Regions from separate parts of the Homo sapiens genome. Here region 1 is linked to region 2. Evidence: promoter capture Hi-C in 16 types of primary human blood cells and fetal thymus (Javierre and others, 2016). All regions are on one chromosome and are shown on one strand. Each heading gives the region's core, a stretch centred on a gene start or on the middle of the fragment in contact. The rest is flanking DNA. Distances are from core to core; before and after follow the strand shown.

The links. Contacts are between HindIII fragments. The CHiCAGO score rates a contact against its expected background, and 5 or more counts as called.
Region 1: a fragment that was not itself captured here is called in contact with the fragment with the promoter of POMC in region 2 in 1 of 17 cell types (M1 macrophages); the score reaches 5.3 in M1 macrophages.

Annotation. Positions count from the first base shown.
Region 1 is chr2:24,991,643-24,998,037 of GRCh38, reverse strand. All of the region lies in intron 1 of DNAJC27-AS1 (DNAJC27 antisense RNA 1), which reads right to left. Among named protein-coding and RNA genes, the nearest start is that of DNAJC27-AS1, 23 kb to the right of the region's middle. The HindIII fragment of the contact is 478 bases long and covers 4,063-4,540 here.
Region 2 is chr2:25,165,515-25,170,269 of GRCh38, reverse strand. It overlaps POMC (proopiomelanocortin), which reads left to right and starts at 1,690. Exons shown (of 3, transcript NM_000939.4): 1 at 1,690-1,772. RefSeq lists cis regulatory regions at 1,388-1,413, 1,414-1,587, 1,653-1,665, an enhancer at 1,574-1,593 and a promoter at 1,004-1,816. The HindIII fragment of the contact is 11,223 bases long and covers 1-4,755 here.

The DNA of each region.
Region 1 (6,395 bases), core at 3,052-5,551, 170 kb after region 2:
CAGTGGTGCAATCTCGGCTCACTGCAACCTCCACCTCCTGGGTTCAAGTGATTCTCCTGCCTCAGCCTCCTGAGTAGCTGGGACTACAGGCATGCACCACCAGGTCTGGCTAATTTTTGTATTTTTAGTAGAGATGGGGTTTCAGCATGTTGGCCAGGCTGGTGTTGAACTCCTGACCTCAAGTGATCCTCCTGCTTTGGCCTCCCAAAGTGTTGGGATTACAGGCGTGAGCCATCACACCCAGCCCACTCGTATTCTTTATTTCAATCCAGTCTCTCATTCTCCAAGAACAATGAACCCACTTGCCCATTTACTGCACTACTGTTACACTGTCACCTTTCAGGAGCCTAGTGTGACCCAAAGGGAGGCCTGAGCTCCATGGTCCCATGTATCTGCATGATGTCACAGTCAAATAAACAGTGGTCACCAACAAGAAGTATTTAAAAAGATTTCCAGGCTGGGCACAGTGGCTCACGCCTGTAATCCCAGCACTTTGGGAGGCCGAGGCAGGTGAATCACCTGAGGTCAGGAGTTCAAGGCCGGCCTGGCCAACATGGTGAAACCCCGGCTCTACTAAAAATAAAAAAAATAGACGGGCTTGGTGGCCCACGCCTGTAATCCTGAGGTAGGAGAATCACTTGACCCGGGAGGCAGAGGTTGCAGTGAGCCGAGATTGTGCCACTGCACTGCAGCCTGGGCAGCAGAGACTCCATATCAAAAAAAATAAAATAAAAGGAATTCCAATTCTATTTATATACTTCAGAGTCTATTAATAAAAACCTATCCATGACTCACAGTAACACCTCATAGAGATCTCCTTTCCCCCATTCCTCTCGATCTTGGTGTCTCTTTCTCGTTACTCTCGCCTCTTTTCCTTTTTCCCTAGTCAAACACTTGTGGCTCTTTACAAAGAGTGACACATACTGATTTAGGCCATCCACTGTTCTTTCATATTTACACTCCACCCCCGTCCCCCTGTTGGGGAAGTGCAATTATCTTTGGAGGCTTCTAGAGCTGCTGCTAGATTCTTAGTGATTCATACCTTGTGCCTGAAATCCTTAAGGTTGAAGAATGGGGAAATTCTCTAGAAATTGCACAGTCACAGGCAAGAAGGGATATGTTCACTAGGCAAAAATCCTCAAGACTGCAGGCTCCCATTAGATGGTCTTCTTTGCCAAAGCAAAAGAAAATATGGGGCCATCTCTCATCTCCCCAAGCTTCAAATGTGGTCAATAAATTGGGGTGTGAAAAATGCCAAAAAATAAGTGGCCAAATATTCACAGTGATACTGCTTATGACATACTCTCTCACGCTGAAAGCAAATCAGGCTGTGAAGTCTCTCATCTGAGCCCAGCTGGCTCACCAGAACTCCGATTGGGGTTGGAGATCAACTGGCCCCCATGCACTGAAACTCACTGGCCAGAGATCTGGATAAGTGGCAGAGGCCCACCTATACCATTTGTTTTGCTACTCCAGACCTTAATTCTGCCACGTGTTCACTTTTTCTAAGGGATATTCTGGTTTCTTTTTCTCTTCTTTAGCCCTGTAAAATTCACCAATTCTGAGAATTCATTGGGACTGTAGAGGTTGTGATAATGTCTTTATTAAATATTTTTAATATAAAAAAACCTTATCTTGATTTAAGTGCCAAGATCCTCTAGACCTTGTTCCATGGACCCCTGTTAATAGCTATTCTTGCACGAACACATCAGTGGACCTGCTTTCCTTTCCTTGCTGAACAATATGATTATGAATCTGACATTTGAATCCCAAAAATTATCCATCCATCCTGCCATACTTAATTACTTATAGTTGTAAAGAAGCTTCAGCCAGGCGCGGTGGCTCACGCCGGTAATCTCAGCACTTTGGGAGGCTGAGAGGGGTGGATCACTTGAGGTCAGGAGTTTGAGACCAGTCTGGCTAACATGGCAAAACCCCATCTCTACTAAAAATACAAAAATTAGCTGGGTGTGGTGGCACACGCCTATAATCCCAGCTATTCGGGAGGCTGAGGCAGGAGAATCGCCTGCAGAGGCAGAGGTTACAATGAGCCAAGATCACGTCACTGCACTCCATCTGGGGCAACACAGCGAGACTCTGTCTCAAAAATAAATAAATAAATAAATAGATAGATAAATAAATAAATAAATAAACAAGAAGCCTCACAGCAAACTAACAGTTTTTCTATTTTGAAGCCCATTAATACCTTTTCAAGGGAGATGCTGGGGATTGTCACTTAGTTTAGTGGCATTTCTCAGCCTTCAAGCCCTTTCATGCCTACACCATTGCATTGGCAGGTGTTGACCATGACTTAAGTCTTTTTCTCAGCTCTTTGACCTTGCCCTTTCTATAAATTCCCTGGGTTTCTGGTTACCATTCACCTGAAGCAGCAGTTCCAAAGCCTGCTTGATTTGGTCTCCATGGTGGAGCTGAGCAGAAGTCACAGACCTCTTCTCTCCTTCCAGCAGGAAGTGGGTTAAAAACTAGCATGTGGGCTGGGCGCGGTGGCTCACACCTGTAATCCCAGCACTTTGGGAGGCCAAGGTGGGCAGATCACTTGAAGTCAGGAGTTCAAGACCAGCCTGGCCAACATGGTGAAACCCCGTCTCTACCAAAAATATTAAAAAATTAGCTGGGTGTAGTGGCGCACACCTGTAATCCGAGCTACTCGGGAGGCTGAGGCAGGAGAATCACTTGAACCCAGGTGGTGGAGGTTGCGGTGAGCTGAGATCGCGCCTCTGCACTCTAGCCTGGCGACGAGTGAAACTCTGTCTCAAAAAAAAAAAAAAAAAAGAACCTGAGTCCCTGACTTCATTGTGCCATTAACAAAAAACAAACAACAACAACAACAAAAAAAACAAACAAACAAAAAAAATAACTAGCTTGTGGTTTGCAACTACAAAGGGTTATTTTTTGGCTTTTTCTTTTTTTTTTTTTTTGAGATAGGGTCTCTCTCTGTCGCCCAGGCTGTAGTGCAGTGGCCCCATCTCGGCTCACTGCAACCTCCACCTCCTGGGTTCAATTCTCCTGCCTCGGCCTCCTGAGTAGCTGGGATTACAGGCATGTGCCACCATGCCCAGCTAATTTTTTTTGTATTTTTAGTAGAGATGGGGTTTCGCCATATTGGCCAGGCTGGTGTCGAACTCCTGACGTTGTGATACATCTGCCTCAGCCTCCGAAAGTGCTGGGATTACAGGCATGGTTTGTAATTTGGTTCTCTTTCTGGAATAACCAGTGCTAAGCAACCCATTCTCTCCCAGTTATAATTCTGATGCAAGTATCTTTTTAAAGGTACTGAATTTTGCAGCTATAGCTTAGCTCTGTGCTTCCTCCACTTCACACTTTAGCTGAAAGTCAGGATAGAAGGTCATCTTAGTTTTAATGAGGACCGTGCTGTCCTGGCTAGGCATTGCTTTTGGTCTTCTAAGATACAGTACAAAAGTCAGAATTCTGTCCTTTGACACCATCTAATTTGCTGGTTTGTTTTCAATATCTTTGTTTCCTTTTATTTCCTCTTGAACATTTATTTGTTGAGTAGTCAATAGTTACACAGGGTACAAAATACAAAAGTTGTAAAAGGATATTCAGTGGAAAGCCAGTCTCCTACTCTTAACTTCCAACCCTCAGTCCCTCTTCTTAGGCACCCACAATTACCAAAGTCTCTCTGCAGGTTCAAAACCATGAGTATTAAACAAACAAACAAACAAGAAAAGCCACACATGGTGATGTTGTTTTGCACCTTGATTTTTTTTTCTCTTATCTATCTCTTGGTGATAATTCCCTGTCAGTCACATGGAGTTGTCTCCCTTTTTTTTTAACTAGCTGCCTGTGGTTGTTCTGTAATGTAGCCAGAACCCCTATTGGTGGACATTCAGGTTGTGTCTGGGTTTTTAGTCTTTTTGTTTTCATGGACAAACTGTTAACCAGATGAAGAGAGGTAAAAATAGCTCTTATGTCCTGAAAACAACTTCAGGTTGCCACCGATTCTGTAAGATCTTATCAGGCTGTAAGACGCTTCCCATATAAGTCAGCCGGTGAGTGTTCAATGGCTCTTGGCAAGCTTTCTGTCAGATCTTGGATCCATGTTCAGGGAAACTGTAGAGCTCCTAATCAGCTGTATCAGGCATACATATGGCTAATTCTGAATGCCCAGCTCTGTGTTCCCTTCTCCCTTTTCTCCTCTCTTTCTATGCTATATATGAAAAAAATAGAAGAATAAATAGCAGAACCAAAAAGTGGTATAAGAGTTTGGAGGAAAGAGACTTATGTAAACTGGAGAACCAAAAATATATAAATATATTGGAGGTAATATTTGAGTAGGGCCAGGCCAGGGGTTGATAGAAAGGAGGAGTTAGTAAATTAAAGGCAAGGAAAACAGAAAGAGCAAAGGCAAAGGGAGGTGGCCACAGCTCAAATTCAGCAGACCGTGAGATCAAGCAGACTGGAACAAACGTTTCATGCTGAGGAGCACAGGCAGATGAGATAGGACAGATAAAGTGGAGTGTGATTCTGGAGGATCTGAATACATGGATGGCAAGCTTATATTTACTCTTAGAGGGTCTAAGATAAGTCTGGATATCCGGTATTCCCAACTTGTTCTTTTTTAGGAGTGCCTTAACTATTATCAATCCTTTGTGCCTCCACATAAAATTTAGAATCATCTTGTCAAATTCTCTTTGGGATTGTACCTGTAATAGCATTGGTTCTATAGATTAATTTAAGGGGAACTGACATCTTTACACTTTTAGCTAACAATGAATATGGTATATCTTCTCATTTACTTACTTTTCTTTTTTTTTAAGACAAGGTCTTGCTCTGTTGCCCAGGCTGGAGTACAGTGGTATGAGCTCAGCTCACTGCAGCCTCAACCTCCCAGGCTCAAATGATCCTTCCACCTCAGCTTCCCAACTAGCTGGGACCACAGGCACATGCCTTCATGCTTGGCTGATTTTGTTTATTTTTTGTAGAAGCAGGGTCTCACTATGTTGCCACAGCTGGTCTTGAACTCCTGGGCTCAAGAAATCCTCCTGCCTCAGCCTCCCAAACTGCTGGGATTACAGGTGTGAGCCACCGCGCCAAGTTTAGGTATTCTTTTTTTTTTTTTTTTTTTTTTTTTTTGAGACAAGAGTCTCACTCTGTCACCCAGGCTGGAGTGCAGTGGCACAATCTCAACTCACTGCAACATCTGTCTCCTGGGTTCAAGCAATTCTCCTGCCTCAGCTTCCTGAGTAGCTAGGATTACAGACCTGCACAACCACACCCAGATAATTTTTGTATTTTTAGTACAGAGAGGGTTTCACCATGTTGGCCAGGCTAGTCTCGAACTCCTGACCTCAAATGATCTGCCCGCCTCAGCCTCCTAAAGTCCTGGGATTACAGGCATGAGCCACTGCGTCAGGCCGGCTTAGGTATTCTTTAACAGCTCTAAATAAAGTTTATTTTCTCTTAGAGGTTTTACTAATCTTTGTATGATATATTTGTTGTAGCTTGTTGCTACTGTAAATGATATTTTCAAATTATATTTTCTGTCTACTGCTATTTTAGAAATCTAATCAATTTGGAAATATTGATTTTATATCTAATAAATTTACTCCTATCACCTGGCAGGATTTGCAGAATAATTGCCCAGAACTAGAATATTGATCCAGATTTTTACATTACCCAGCCCTTTTGTTTCTTCTGAACTGCAGCTGGAGATTGCTGGTTGGTTCGCAGGAATAAGCAGGGTTACTCTAAAATGTACCACTCAAAGATGGGCATGACAGTGTAAAAAAAACAATTAGGGAAGGGTAGGTATACGTAAAATAGGTGAAGGGTGGGATCCATCAGAGGAAAGTGCACCAAATGGGAAGACAGGTTTTTGATCTGGTCTGAGAATTTACCTGGGACTGTCTTCAGCTTGAAGGTTGGGTTTCACCAGGGACCCACCCCTATCTGCTTAGGCATTTGTCTGCCTCCTGTCACTATCACTATGAAGAAATAATTTTGACTGGGTAATTTAGAAAGAAAAGAGGTTTAACTGACTCACAGTTCCCCATGGCTGGGGAGGCCTCAGGAAGCTTACAATCATGGTAGAAGGCACCTCTTCACAGGGTGGCAGAAGAGAGAATGAGTGCCAGCAGGGGAAATGCCAGACACTTATAAAACTATCAGATCTTGTGAGAACTTACTCACTATCATGAGAACAGCATGGGGGAAACCACCCCCATGATTCAATTATATCCCACCAGGTCCCTCTCATGACACGTGGGGATTATGGAGATTAAAATTCAAGATGAGATTTGGGTGGGGACACAGCCAAACCATACCATCCTACTCCTGCCCCCTCCCAAATCTCATGTCCTCACATTTCAAAACATAATCATGCCTTCCCAACAGTCCCCAAAAGTCTTAAC
Region 2 (4,755 bases), core at 441-2,940:
AACAAACAAACAGAATGAGAGAGAGAGAGAAGAAAAGAAAGAAGGAACCCAGTTAAAGAAGTTGGGTCCATTTGGATTTTTCCTGGTTTGTTTTATCTGCTGCCACCAGCAGCCTCCTGAAGTTACAAAAATAACACAAAGTAAAATAAGGCAAAACCACCATCTGCTTGAAAGAGTTTACAAACCTGATGGTGGTCGTGGGGTGGATGGAAGATTAAAAAAATGGGGACAGAAGTGAATTAGTGCAAGCCACTTGCACTGACAAGATGGGGATGGACTTCTGTGGAAGGCAGAGGAGGTCATGCCTCATGCCCCTGGTAGGAAAAGTGGCCAAAGAGGGCTTCAGAGAACAGGGGCTGATGGATGGGCTACATCTTGATGTGAGTCAAGCTCCTGGATGGCTGGAGAGAGGAAGGATGTTCTAGTTGGGGGAACAGCTTGGACAATGGAGACCCAAGAAAGCCATGTTCTAGCAGTGTGAATGTTGTGGATGCTGAAGTGCCAGGATGCAAGGTGGAGAACTGGGAAATGGCCCTGGAAAGGGGCCAAAGCCGGGTGATGAAGCACCTTGTCTACTGTGACGGAGCTTGGATCTCTCTTGTGGTCCAAAGGGAAAGGATTGCTGAATGTAAAGCCAATGTCACCAGAAAAGCTGAATCCACAAGAGAGTCCTGGAGTCCAAAAGAGCATCTCATGGGGAATCAGGAAAGTTCTGGCATTTGGCAGATTAAGCAAGTGTCTTGATTTGAAGTCCAGTTTAGTCCCAATACTCCCTCCCACACCCACCACATCGCACAATTTGGTTTTGTTTATTTACTCCAGGTTAAGGTAGAGTCTCTTAGCTTGGTTTGAGTGCTGTACTCTTCTCTCTGGTCTGATATTTGGAACTAAAGCCAAGCCAGAACTCCAGGGCCAAGGGGGATGTTGAAAATTGTCTGAGTCCCCAGACCACCCTGCCAGCTCATGGCAAAGGGAGGGATCAGAGGCCACAGGGAAAGCACTTCAGCTGCTCTTCACAGCATCACCCTCTCCCCATTTAATGGTTTAGGTTAACAGGACTTTTTCCTTGAGGCTTGGGACACGGAAGGGAGCCTCCCCTAAACCAGGCCCTTGGAGAGCAGGCCCCAGGGGAGCAGTGCAACTCACCTTCACACCCACAAGACGGCTCCTGACTTCTGCTCCCTCCTCCCCTCCCCAAAGTGGAACAGAGAGAATATGATTCCCCACGACTTCCACATCACAGTTTCCAAACAATGGGGAAATCGGAGGCCTCCCCGTGTGCAGACGGTGATATTTACCGCCAAATGCGAACCAGGCAGATGCCAGCCCCAGCACGCACGCAGGTAACTTCACCCTCGCCTCAACGACCTCAGAGGCTGCCCGGCCTGCCCCACACGGGGGTGCTAAGCCTCCCGCCCGTTCTAAGCGGAGACCCAACGCCATCCATAATTAAGTTCTTCCTGAGGGCGAGCGGCCAGGTGCGCCTTCGGCAGGACAGTGCTAATTCCAGCCCCTTTCCAGCGCGTCTCCCCGCGCTCGTCCCCCGTCTGGAAGCCCCCCTCCCACGCCCCGCGGCCCCCCTTCCCCTGGCCCGGGGAGCTGCTCCTTGTGCTGCCGGGAAGGTCAAAGTCCCGCGCCCACCAGGAGAGCTCGGCAAGTATATAAGGACAGAGGAGCGCGGGACCAAGCGGCGGCGAAGGAGGGGAAGAAGAGCCGCGACCGAGAGAGGCCGCCGAGCGTCCCCGCCCTCAGAGAGCAGCCTCCCGAGACAGGTAAGGGCGCAGCGTGGGGGACCCGTGCTCTTTCCCCGGGATCCCCTGTCCCCGTCCTCGCGATGCAGTCGGCCGGCTCCGGCTCCGAAGGCGGACCTGGGCGCCTCTGGCTCTCCGCGGTCCCGAGTTCTCGACAAACTTTCTGCGCCGACTGCGGCATGAGAAGCCGCCAGTAGCTGAGCTGGAGGGCCCACGTCCGGCCCCTGGGCGGACGGCCGCGAAGCTGCAGGCGCTGTCTCCAGGGAGCCGGCGGCCTCCTCTCCCCCAGGGGCTCGCGGCGGTCCGGAGGCTCCGAGAGCTTGCTAGGAGGTCTTGGGACAACCCGGTCTTTTTTTTTTTTTTTGAGACGGAGTTTCGCTCTTGTTGCCCATGCTGGAGAGCAAAGGGGTGATCTCTGCTCACCGCAACCTTCGCCTCCCGGGTTCAAGCGATTCTCCTGCTTCAGCCTCCCGAGTAGCTGGGATTACAGGCATGCGCCACCACGCCCGGCTAATTTTTGTATTTTTAGTAGAGACGGAGTTTCTCCATGTTGGTCAGGCTGGTCTCAAACTCCCGACAACAGGTGATCCGCCCGCCTTGGCCCCCCAAAGTTCTGGCATTACAGGCGCGAGCCACCGCCCCCGGCCAGCCCGGTCTTTTAGTATCTCTTGCTCCCAGTTTCCAGGATAGGTGTCACATCTTGAAAGTCAAATTCCATACACGCTATCGCAAATTAATGTTGGAAACGGGGCAGCAGAGAAAAGGATAAAAGTCATAATGAACGCCCTGCCTTCCGGATTTTTTCGGATTCAGACCCCTGAATCCTTGTTTCCTTGCCCACCTTAGCGCACCCGAGGTGGCCGCGCTATGATAATTACATGATAACTGGGTCAATTACAATGCAGAATAGTTGGGTCTCTTCTCTCCAAGACCTAGCTGGGGTTAAAAACAGGTGGCCGGGGCGGGAGCTGTCCTAGATCCTGAAACGCACTGTCTAGTTTCGGATGCCCTCAACAGAACCGGGGTGGACGGTTTATGGCGCAGATCCTGGGTTGAGGGCACGGGCAGCCATTTGGAATGATCAAGGCTCAGGTAAGGGGCGTTTCCAGCGAAGGAGAGACAGTCCACTTGGCATTTGGATTCCCCAAATTCTTCATGTTTAAATGGGGCAGGGAGGGTTCTTACAGAATGGCTGGAAGGAGCCAAGGAAAATAAAAGTGTGTGTGGATTTTTTTTGTGTGTGTGTCAGTTTATAAACTCTGCACAGATTATGGCCACTTTAATGACTTACTGTTCCTTTGATGCTTTTGTTATAGGACTCGATGCATGTATGTCATGGTGTAAGGACAAAACTCGGCCCCTGTGCTCCTCTAATCTTTACAAAAGGTCATGGCCAGCGTGCAGTTTTACAGTAACAAGCAAAATGATTTGTTGAGCTCATAGAGAGCCCCTCACACCTATGAAGTTCTAATAAGTGTAGTTCTACTATAAAGTTAATCTCAGGATGAGCAAATTTCAAGTTTCTATTTTTCCAGAGCTTTCCATTTTTGGATTATAATACTTTCCCTACTTAAAAAAGCACAACATTTGATATTTCCCCAATAATTTGTTGCTTTAAAAATGACACAAAAGGTACTATTTGTTCATTGTAGAGAACTGAAAATACACATAAGCAAATACACATACACATAAGCAAAATATACAATACAAACACAAGACCATCTTTCAGGGAAGAATCTGAAGTTTTAGCAATAGCAGCCATCTAACCAGTTTAGCAACAGAATATAAGCTCTGAGAGGGTGGGAGTGAATATGTTACCACATTGTACAACACAGCACATAGGGCATAAGGAGGGGAAATGCTCTCTGGGGCTTTCCAGGAAGGCCTGAAGTCATTGCTTCTAGCAAATGGAAATCACTCCAGAGTAGTTATCTTTGACAAGAATTGAAATATAATTGAGGGAACTATCAGACCTGTAAGATTTTGTTTTTTCCTTTACTAATATGTTACTTTACATTTGCATTTGGTGACATACGTAACTACCATTTTTCTGTGACTGTAACATCTGGGCATTTTTCAGAGCTAAATGTGCTATGGTCAACTTGGAGCTTTAATCTAATTGCCTGGTCCACCAAGTTCTGGCTGTGTACTTGAATAGATCACTGGCAGGGTACAATGGGAACAGCCTGTCCCTTGGAGCCAGGAGAGGACACCAAGGTTGACCAAAGCTCGTTCAGTTGCCCCTTTAGCCGAAGCGCACCTGGGCCAGTCACTGGCTGCCAGTGCCATCTAATGGCTGCTCTGAAAATGCTCAGCCTTGCCCGGCAACCCTTCAGAAGCTAGCACCGTGCAGGCCCAGCGCCTGGGGAATAGGGCGAGGGTGGGGTAGAGAGAAGGAAGTGGCCTCCTGAAGTAGAAATCAGCGCTTCAGAGGACTTTCACTTCCAAAGCCTCCCCTATATAAAAAAGATTTGGCCCACGCCTCCCCAAATGAGAGATTTATTTTAGGCAAACTTATTTTAAAATGCCAGCGTTCATTAGGAGTGACAAGACACTTAGTCATCCACGCTTTAATGTGAATTACTTTTCTCATCTAATTACATTTCTTTCTAGCAGCTGGCTGAGAAGATCTTCTGAAATCCAAAATGATTGTAGGGTTGGCGGTGAGCTGATCTCCGGCCTCGAGGTGGCTTCAGGGGGCCCACCTGGTTAAGGGAAATTTGGCAGTGCGAGGGTAGTGCTGGAGAGAGGGGTGGGTACAGGGGGCTAGGGGCACCATGGATGCCCCCTCCTTACTGTCCCCTGGTGTCTTGACCTCAGCTTCTGCCCACAGGCACTTGCTGGATTCTCCAAAAGTATCTGCAGTGGCTGTTCCACCAGGAGGTAATTCCCTTCTGGTCTCTTTCCCCTCCACATCTGCATCCTCTTCAAATCCTGCCATTTCAGACCACATTTGAGAGCTCTAGAGAACAAGACATCTGACACGTGACGTGTCCAGAAGATG